2 separate regions of the Homo sapiens genome follow, and region 1 is linked to region 2. Evidence: promoter capture Hi-C in 16 types of primary human blood cells and fetal thymus (Javierre and others, 2016). All regions are on one chromosome and are shown on one strand. Each heading gives the region's core, a stretch centred on a gene start or on the middle of the fragment in contact. The rest is flanking DNA. Distances are from core to core; before and after follow the strand shown.

Region 1 (5,553 bases), core at 2,781-5,280, 160 kb after region 2:
GTACGTGCCCGTGTGTGTGTGTGTGTGTGTATGTTGTGGGAAGAGGCATGGAAGGTTCTGAGGTGGAGGTTTCTGCTGCCTAAACTTTTAGTGTCACTGAGGTTGGTTCCAGAGCAAGGCCTGGAGGAAGGGTTGAAGAGTTGGGGAAGGCTTGGTATTGGCTTGGGGGTCCCTCAGTCTTCCTCCCAGTGCCTCAGTTTCACTGTTTGGAGGTGATACCTAGGCCTACCTCACTTTGTGGGGCAGAACCTGGATCTTCTGATGAAGAGAAAATTTAAGACAAGCAGGAGTGAGGGTGGCGGTAGAAGGTCATTGGGTCAACTCATTCATGCCGACACCTAACCTCTTTGGATTATTTCCCCCAAAAAGAAATGCCCTAACCTCCATATTCCTTGTCAGTTACCATCCCTGGGTAACCAAGTTACCATCTCTTAGAGACCATGGGTTTAATCTCCATCCTTTGGTGGACAGTTCTCCAGAGTGATCTGACTTTCCTGGGAACTCCTGGTTCCCTTTCTCATTGCCATGCATCAATTCCCTCTTCCACAGAAAGAACTGAAGTTAGAACTTAATAAGGACTTCCCAACAAAATAGGAAGTAAGAGAAGGAAGGGCAGCCAGGTTAGGAGGGAAACCCAAAAAGTCTATTACCTGAAACCTGGGCCATGGGCCCTGAGGTATTTATGGGAGAGAGGACTGGGCAGCTAAGTGGTGACACCGGCAGCTCTCCCACAGGGGGGCTTAGCCCGCTGGGGTTGTTTTACAGGTTATTCCTTAACACACACTTCTCCCCCTCCCAGCTCTCCCTGTCAGGGGAATAAAGCCCCATCCTTTCCACTCTCCTCACTCTGCAACACCATCCCCTCACTTTCTCGGAGTGCCCAATTCCTTGCTCCTTTTGCTCTCCCAGATCTCCAAAGAAAAAGCTGGGAGGTGGCAGGAGCAGATGGAGGTCCACGGAGGGTTGCACAGCAGTTTCGCCAGCAGGTAGGCACCAATTTCAGGGTAGGGCCCAGGAGTTCTGGATTCTAGCCCCATGATTTGATTTACCTCAAGGAACTCTGGGAACCCAAGGTTTAGGGGAAGGGTTTGGGAACCAGGTGGCTGATAGACAAAGAGAAAGCAGCAAAAGAAGAAACAGAGCAAATGAAAGAGTCCAAGACAATCAGAAGAGATATCACCAGGTATAAGAGAGAGGAAACAGGAAAACAGAAGACCAGATGTGTGGCTTTAAACAACAACAACAACAACAACAAAAAACAGAGCAGGAAAGAAACTAAAAAGATAAAGAAACAGGCCCAGAGGAACAAAGATGGGGAGACAATGGCTTGGGAAGGACAGAGAAAATAGCCTGAGGCATAGCCAGGTCCGGAGGAGGAGGAGGAGGAGGAGGAGGAGGAGGGTTGTGTTGCCAGGCAGGTGGGGGGGCGGGGAAGGAGTATAAATAGCACATAATTGTGTCCGCTGATTACACGGGCCACCCCACCCGTCTGCCTGAGAGGAAGTGCCCGTGGTGGGGTGTCCCTGTGACCTCGCGGTCTCCCCCTTGTTGGGGGGGAGTCTGAGACTGAGGTGCCAGATGGCTTTCCGGGGCCCCGAACTCAGAAGTTGAGAAAGAGAAGCTTTAGAGAAATTCCTGTATCACCAGCAGAAAAGCCCGACCCAGTTAGATCAGGCAGGAAACTGAGGCAGAGGAGGAGAAAGTCTAGATTCTAAAGAAGAGATAGCAGGTGAGGAGGGGGTTGGGACTCAGATTAGATGAGAGAAGAAAGGAAGAAACTGAAGGGGAAAAGGAGGAAGGATGGAAAGATAAATGGACAGACAGGGCTGGGGAGAGGAGTTGGAAGGAAGGGTCACCTTCTCACTCCCCGTGTGGGCTTTAATCCCTAACCCTACCCGGGAAGGGGCAGACGTATTCAAACCCTACTATTCTCTATTCGAACCCTACTATTCTCGGAGAAATAAAAAGGAGGAGCAGAGTCCCAGGAAGATGTGAGCCAGTGCCCCGATGTGTCAACATAGGACACCCTCTGGACACAGAGCCTCTTCCCCACCAGAGATCAGCGCCAAAGATAGGCAGAGGGGCTGCCTGAATCCCCCAGCTGCTGCCCTCAGGAACCCCTGGGTTCTGACTTCTCCATGTCCTTTTTAAAAATAGTCCTGCAGCCCAGCTGAGGCTCTGGTGTTCCTGGGTCCAGCTCCCCAGTCTCCTTCCCAGTGCCCTGAGGGGCTGGGGGCAGCAATTGGAAGCCCTAACCAAGGACCTACCTCCACCCTCTCAGGCCTCCCTCAGCCCAGCCTCCCAGGGGGTGGGGCAGACCAGGGAGAGGCGCCATGTGGCAGGGGCGGGTAGAGGCTGCGGCTCTGGTCCTTCCAGTATAAACCCCCTAGGCATCTGGTTTCTATCCACCACCCCCCACCACCCTGGGGGCCCCTCAGCCTCCGCCCATGGCCACCCAGACGCTGAGCTCCAAGGGATGGATGCCCCAGACGGAAGGGGTGGGATGATGCCTTTCTGATATCCCAATGCCAGGACTGGGCTGAACCACAGGAACCATTCCCTTCCCACCCTCCCCTAGGAGAATCAGGGTGGGCTTTGTAGGTTAGAGGGGGTTGAATCTGGCACCTGCCTCAGTTCTCCAAATGATTTTGGATCTTTTTGGAAAGATCAGTGGGGTGAAAACAGAATGAAAACTGGGGAGAGTGGGGCCGGGTGCAGTGGCTCACGCCGGTAATCCCAGCGCTTTGGGAGGCCAAGGTGGGTGGATCACCTGAGGTCAGGAGTTTGAGACAGCCTGGCCAACATGGTGAAACCCCGTCTCTACTAAAAATACAAAAATCAGCTGAGCGTGGTGACGGGTGCCTGTAATCCCAGCTACTTGGGAGGCTGAGGCAGTAGAATCACTTGAACCCAGGAGGTGGAGATTGCAGTGAGCTGAGATCATGCCATTGCACTCCAGCCTGGGCAACAAGAACAAAACTCCATCTCAAAAAAAAAAAAAAAGAAAGAAAAAAAAAACTGGGGAGAGTGGGAGACCTGTACCCCCTATTCCCAAGGGATGCTACTTCCATCGTCCACACCATCACCCTCTACCACCTTTCTAGGCTGGGCTGTCTCTAAGAGCCTCATCCAAAGGGACTCCCAACTCTTCATTGTTGCTGTTATAGAAGGTTTGACTACCCTAGGGAGAATCACCAGAGAATAGTGAGCAGAGCCCCTGAAATAGAGACTGACACATGCCCTAATACATACCTGATGACAGACACATTCAGATCTGCATACTTGCACACACACAAGGTGACACATAATTCATACACATTTGTACTATGCAGGCATCCATATTGACACACACTGATATATACATATACAGATAATGCTTACCCCAAGACACCCTAACCCCCAATCATAAAAATGCACACACCAGTATATATATACATGCATACAGACTCACAGCCACCTAGAATACTCCCCACATGGACTCACAGACTCCCATCAACACACGTATCTACACATGTGGCAAATGTCACATACATATACCCAGGGCTACCATTACAACTTTACAGCCCTGGAGATCTCTGTGGTCTCCTAAAGGGCATTTGGGAACCCCTCTCCCTATAAGGATCTGGAGATAAGGGTGATATGGAGGCCACTGCCAGTCCTGCAAATTGCTGCCTCCAACTCCTACTAGTATAAGAAGTTCCAGTGTACCTTTAGGTACTTTTGATCCAATACTCCACACACACACCAGAGTTCAGAGACCCAGATGGCCCCAGCGAACTCCCTGGTCCTGGGGAACCCCAGCATCCCTACCCCCACCCAGGCCCCCGCTGCTCTGCGGCCCCGCTGACTCATCTCTCCCTCTGTGGAGCTCCCCAACCACAGGGGCCTGGAAGAGAAGCTTGGAAAGTTGCGCTCATGTCCCGGGCCCCTGGTCTGGCCACTACCCGCCCATGCACCCAGCCCAGCCCTTGTCTCCAGTGGATACTCCAGCGACAGAGAACATAGAGGGGACAGGAAAGAAGAAGGCACGCAGAGACAGGGAAACAGAAAGACACAGGAGAGACAAAGAGGAAACAACAAATGGTGGGCATACAGATGAGAGACCCTGAGGATCAGCTACTAGTCTGTTGGGTCCTCTAAGAGCAATGGGGCTGATGACCAGGAAAGCTTGCTCCTTGGGTTGAAGGAACATCCATTCATGGCCTCAGGATTTAGAGACTGCCGAGTGCCTTGACCCAGCATTTCTGACACTAGGCTCAGGGTACTTGGGGAAGAGGATCCAATTTTAGGAGGCAAAGCTGAGGACACAGGGTAGAAAGGAAGCTTTTAAGAGGCTGGCAACCTTTGTATAGGACAGCTTGGAAAAGGAGTTCCTCACCCCAACAAATATGTACACAAATTTACAGGTACAGACAGACTACAACTTCCCTCCCTCTCTGCTAGGTCTCCCCATCCCCTCTTCCAGCACCAGGGCTGCAAGGCAGGACCTCTGGGACTGACTCTGGCTCCCCTCTTCCCTGAGCCTTGGGTTCCTTCATTGACATTGAGCCCTGATATAATTCAGCAGCTTTAGGAGAGGCAGATCAGAATCAGAAACAGAAGTGCCATGGAAGGAGCAGGAAGGAATCTGGATGGCAGGGGACAAAGTGAAAAATGAAAGGAAGAGGAAGACTGGGGTCTGATTCTGAAACAAGGGGACCTGTCCTGGATGCCCGTGTCTAAAATGGGACAACATTGAATTAAGTAAGAACCTGGTCATCTCTAGAAAATGACCCTTTGTAAAAACGATACCCTAGAATCTGATCCATGAAATATACTAGTGTCTTTCATAAGAAGAAGTTGGGGTGATGGAGTTCTGATCACATCATCCCTAGGAGTGAGGCTGAGCAACTCAAGGGAATGGTCCTTCAAAATCCTAAATACAGGCCTGGTGAGGTGGCTCACACCTGTAATCCCAGCACTTTGGGAGGCCGAGGTGGGTGGATCACCTGAGGTCAGAAGTTTGAGACTAGCGTGGCCAACATGGCAAAACCCTGTCTCAGGCTGGCCGAGGTGGCTCATGCCTGTAATCCCAGCACTTTGAGAGGCTGAGGAGGGCGGATCACGAGGTCAGGAGATCGAGACCATCCTGGCTAACATGGTGAAACCCTGTCTCTACTAAAAATACAAAAAATTAGCCGGGCGTGGTGGCGGGCGCCTGTAGTCCCAGCTACTTGGTAGGCTGAGGCAGAAGAATGGCGTGACCGGGAGGTGGAGCTTGCAGTGAGCCGAGATCGCGCCACTGCACCCCAGCCTGGGCGACAGAGCGAGACTCCGTCTCAAAAAAAAAAACAAAAAACAAACAAACAAACCCTGTCTCTACTAAAAATACAAAAATTAGCTGGGTGTGGTGGCGCGTGCCTGTAATCCCAGCTACTCTGGAGGCTGAGGTAGGAGAATCACTTGAACCCAGAAGGCAGAGATTGCAGTGAGCCGAGATTGTGCCACTGCACTCCAGCCTGGAAGACAAGCGAGACTCCATTTAAAAAAAAAAAAATTCCTAAATACACACGT
Region 2 (5,191 bases), core at 2,624-5,123:
CAGCCTCCTGAGTAGCTAGGACTACAGGCACATGCCAGCATGCCGGGTTAATTTTTTAATTTTTTGTAAACAGGGTCTCACTATGTTGCCCAGGCTGGTCTTAAACTCTTGGCTTCAAGCAATCCTCCCACCTCAGCCTCCCAAAGCACTGGGATTACAGGTGTGAGCCACCTCGCCTGGCCAAAATATAATGTTTTTATTGTGAATCAGATTATTTATTCTATGGTATTTTAGTGTTGGTTATATTCTTATATTTTATTTATATAATTTTTGTTTGTTAATCTGACATCTGGTCATGTTGCTGAACTCCATAGTTTTGATACATTGTCAATCGTTTCTCTTTGTAAGATGAATATATATGAAATCAAGGAGGCTTTAGGGTGGCCAGGAGCTCTCCTAAAATCTTAGTTTTAATAGTAAACATCCCTGGCTTGTTCCTAGCAAAGACAGAAATGTTTCAAATATTTTCCCATAAAGCATGACTTTTGTCTCAAAAGCTGAAAGATAAGTGAAAAAGAGAAAATATTTTAAATGCAGACGACAAAGAATAGTTATTATCCATAACACAGACAGGATTTCTACCATCAATAAGAAATATACAAATGATCTACCTTTTTTTAATGGGCAAAGGATATGAACAGACAGTTTACAAAAACAATTAAAATGGTCAAAGAGCAATAAAATAGTCCCACCTATTTGGAAGGCTGAAGTGGGAGGATCACTTGAGCTCACGAGTTGGAAACCAGCCTAAGGCAACAAAGCGTGGAGACCCATCTATTTATTTATTTATTTATTTATTTATTTTTTGAGACAGAGTTTCGCTCTTGTTGCCCAGGCTGGAGTGCAATGGCACAATATGGGCTCACTGCAACCCCCGCCTCCCGGGTTCAAGTGATTCTCCTGCCTCAGCCACCTGGTAACTGGGATTACAGGCACGTGCCACCAAGCCCAGCTAATTTTTTTGTATTTTTAGTAGAGATGGGGTTTCTCCATGTTGGCCCAGCTGGTCTCAAACTCCTGGCCTCAGGTGATCCGCCCACCTCGGTCTCCCAGAGTGCTGGGATTACAGGCGTGAGCCACCGTGCCTGTCCAGAGACCCATCTCTTAAAAAAAAAAAAGGCAATAAGAGAATATTAACTTCACTATTAATGACATGAAAATTAAAACAAATACTATTTTTCACCCATTAAACTAGTAACTGTATAAAAAATTCATAGCATACACTAAACATTGCCAAAGTTGTAGGAATAGGGAACATTCACACATGGTTCTGAGTAAACATGGGAGTTGTTACAAACTTTTACAATTCATTTTCACAGAATCTATTAAAATTTACATATCCGGCCAGGCATGGTGGCTCAATCCTGTAATCCTAGCACTCTAGGAGGCCGAGGCCAATGGATAGCTTGAGCCTAGGAATTCGAGACCAGCCTGGGCAACATGGCAAAACCCTGTCTCTACAAAAAACAAAAAAACAAAAAAAAAACTACAAAATTATCCAGGCACAGTTGCCCACATCTGTAGTCCCAACTACTTGGGAGGCTAAGATGGGAGGATTCCTTGAGCCCAGGAGGTTGAGGCTGCAGTGTGCCCTGACTGCACCATTGCACTCCAGCCTGGGCGACAGACCAAGACCCTATCTTTAAACAGAATGAAAATAGGGCCGGGTGTGGTGGCTCACACCTGGAATCCCAGCACTTTGGGAGGCCAAGGTGGGTAGATGACCTGAGGTCAGGAGTTCAAGACCAGCCTGACCAACATGGTGAAACTCCATCTCTACTAAAAAATACAAAAAAATTAGCCGGGCTGGCAGCAGGCGCCAGCTACTCAGGAGGCTAAGCCAGGAGAATTGCTTGAACCTGGGAGGTGGAGGTTGCAGTGAGCCAAGATTGTGCCATTGCACTCTAGCCTGGGTGACAGAGTGAGACTCCATCTCAAAAAAAAATAAAAATAAAAATAAATTTAAATAAAAGCACATATCCTATCTATAAATCCTTATAAATGCAAAAGGTAACTTTTTTTTCTTTTTTGAGACAGAGTTTCACTCTTATTGCCCAGGAAAGGCACGACTCTCGCCTCACCACAACTCCCGCCTCCCGGGTTCAAGTGATTCTCCTGACTCAGCCTCTCGAGTAGCTGGGATTACAGGCATGTGCCACCACGCCCGGCTAATTTTGTATTTTTAGAAGAGACGCGGTTTCTCCATGTTGGTCAGGCTGGTCTGGAACTCCCGACCTCAGATGATCCGCCCACCTCGGCTTCCCAACGTGCTGGGATTACAGGTGTGAGCCACCCTGCCCGGAGCAAAAAGATAACTATTTAAGGATGTTCATTATTGTATTGTTTATAAAGCAAAAAAATCTGAAACCTAAATGTTCATCAAGATGGGACAAGGCACACACATAAACTGGAATACTGTGCAACAGTTTTTTAAATGTTAGCTGACTCAGATGTCTAAAATACACTGTATGGCGCATTACAGGTGCTCAATAAATACTGGTTGAAAAGATTTTTGTATGAACACAGAAAAAAGCCTAAAAGCATATATACCAAACTGGTAAGAATGATTCCCTTCAGGAGCATGGGATAAGTAGAGGGGGAGAATAACCATTTTGTGTCTTTTATACTTTTGCGTTGTGTCGATTTGTAAAATAAGTAGGAGCTAATTTTCAAAAAAGATTTAAAAGACTTATTCCTGGTGATGTTTCTTTATCTCTCTCTTTCTCCATTTTGTCTCTATTTTAGAATGATCCTAAAACACAAAAAACGTACTTTCAATGGCCCAAATCATGGAGTGGCTCAGGGAAATGAAATCTGTCTACAAAAAAAAAAAAGTTGAGAATCCTTGTCTTTTTTTCATCATACAGTTTTTTTTTTCTTTTGGTATCACCATTACTTCTCCTAAAGTCACGACATAATATCACCTACAGCAGAAATGAGGACTTCAGTGGAATTGACATCTCCTTCCATCAAGCGCATTTGCAGTCCATCTTTAGCAGGACCTCTCTCTAATGGCTAAGGCTAGGCAGAAGAATTTGAAGACAGTCTGGTTTCCATTTTCCTAATGCAGCCTGGCCCAAGAGCCAGGACTCCCATAAGACTAGTCTACTGTGGGAGTCAGGGTCTTTTCCACGTGTGGAGGCTAGTGTTTGATGCTGGACGGCCTGGAGTAAAGGGCGAAGGGGAGAAGGTAACCAACCAGGCTGGCCTCGGGATTCGCAGAGGAGGGCTGGGGCTTTGACTTCTGCAGGGAGGTGAGCAGTGTGGCCAAGGGCTACTCAAGGAACGCCTCTGCGAGAATTCAGACTGTGGTTGAGCGCACAAAGCAAGAGTGTGCGAAGAAAAGTTAACGCCTCTCCCAGCTGACCCCAAAATCTGCTAATCTGGGCCTGACGGAAAAAATTCGGAGAAGAACCACCTCGGCCGAGTTACGTGAAAAGGCTGGGTACGAACTACTCTGGCTCTACTTGGGGCGCCGGCTCAGAGCGATGGGCAGGACGTCCGCGAGGAAGAAAGAGTGACGATGATTTTTCAAGGAGTCTGAACCAGCTCACCCAGCAAACCCTCCTCCCATCGAGCACCCAGCGTACAATCATCGAAGGGCCGAGGGTCCTGCCCTCAGTCTCGATGGCGGCCGGGGCGCGCCCCGGCCACGGCGCACGCGCCGGCCTCAGCGCTCCCTCCTCCATGCCCTCGGCGCACGGCGCCGCCCACTCACCCAGCTGCACCTCTCCGTGCGTCCCCAAGCTCACCCGCTCTGAGGCTGCCCCCGCTAGTCTAGCTGCCGAGCCCGGAAGTGGATGCAGCCGCTCGGCGGAGAGGACGAGGGGGAGGGGGAAGTGCTTCCGGGGAAACGGGCCGGGGTTGGTGTTTGTAAACTTGCCTCGGTCCCGGTGGGGGCAGCCGCGGCGGTGGGGTTGGCAGGGTGTGCTGGGGCCTGGAGGAGGCGCCGCGCGGCCAGGGAGCCAGCGGGAGGCCGCGCCTGGCAGGTAGGAGCAAGCCCCAAAGACCGCAGCGTCGTCCGTACAGACGGCAGCGCTTCAGTAGCTCGCAAGCCGTGGGGTGCCGCGCGGGAAGGGGGAGGGGAGGGGAGGAGGGGCGCGTGGCGAAGGGAGGGGGATCTCCGGGGGAGGGAGGGGAAAGGCCGTGCGCGCACACCGCCCCCTGCCCGCGCGTCCCGCCGCGTCCCCGGCCCGGGAGAGGGCTCTCGGAGGGGACGCGGGCGCGAGCACGCATCTCGCGCGCTTCTCGGCACTCTCCGGCTCTGCTCCCGGTTGGTGCAGCGGGTGCAGAGGCTGGCTGGCCGGAGCGAGGCGGGCGACACGCCGCGCCGGGCTTCGCCTGCCTGTCCTCCACCTCCGCAGCAAGTTTCCCTACCTTCGGGCGGACGGGGAGAACGCACACGTGTGGGCACTGCCAGTCCCGTTTCTGCCCGCCACCGAAGCACCCAGCGATGGCCCTTGAGCTTTCCTCCACCCTAGTCTTGCCGCCTCTGTAAAGTGCGAGCTTTTCGGGCCGGCCCACTGGGCACAAAAGCCCCAAAGGGTCTCCGCCCCCTTCTTCCATTCCTGAGATGGCAAATCCAAGCAACTTTCCTTTTGGCAGAGTTCCTCCATAGGAGGCCCCAATTACTTTTGCTCCTGTTGGCTTCCACTCCTTGCCCAGGAGACCAGTTCCTCCTATTGACCTAGAAAGAAAACTCTTCTTGACTCATGTCCTCGTTCTGAGCTTCACAGAGAGCGCCCAGCAAAAAAAAAATTCATATCGCACGTTGTAATGGCCTGAAGATGTTGCATTTAGCAGCCCCCCTCTTCCTTTCTGGTTTCAGGTTTCTGAAACAGATCGTGAGCTTCATCAAGAGAATTCAACTGGAAAACCAAGACTGGTAGACTCTCTTTTTCTTCAGACAATAGGCAGGAGCCAGGCAGAGTCCAGGGATTCTTGGAACACCTATCTTTTCTTCGGAGGACACTAAGTTCTATTTGAAGACAAAGTTCAATATGGCAACAGGACTGATGGGACACGAAGGAGTCGCTACCGTGATTTGGTGACAGTTCTTCAAAACGACAGTGTCTCAAGGAAAGGTGGACCTAGGAACTCCTGAACTTTTGGGTTGCCTTAAGTGAGAAATCAGCATGGCTCAGGTAAAAAGCTCTAGAGTCCTCCTCCAAGATAACTGGGAAGCCTGTTT

Evidence for each region. The method cuts DNA at HindIII sites, captures the fragments that hold promoters and counts their contacts. A CHiCAGO score of 5 or more calls a contact.
Region 1: a contact is called between a fragment that was not itself captured here and the fragment with the promoter of ZNF740 in region 2, in 1 of 17 cell types (total B cells). The highest score is 5.8, in total B cells.

What each region holds. Positions count from the first base shown.
Region 1 is chr12:53,336,738-53,342,290 of GRCh38, forward strand. It overlaps a transcript of SP7 not described here. Among named protein-coding and RNA genes, the nearest start is that of SP7, 3.2 kb to the left of the region's middle. The HindIII fragment of the contact is 269 bases long and covers 3,897-4,165 here.
Region 2 is chr12:53,176,849-53,182,039 of GRCh38, forward strand. ZNF740 (zinc finger protein 740) reads left to right here and starts at 3,874. Exons shown (of 7, transcript NM_001004304.4): 1 at 3,874-3,989; 2 at 4,829-5,144. The coding sequence starts at 5,136. It overlaps CSAD (cysteine sulfinic acid decarboxylase), which reads right to left and starts at 4,077. Exons shown (of 17, transcript NM_001244705.2): 1 at 3,884-4,077; 2 at 2,254-2,294. RefSeq lists an enhancer at 3,343-3,901 and silencers at 3,564-3,653, 3,944-4,243, 4,597-4,891. The HindIII fragment of the contact is 11,552 bases long and covers 1-5,191 here.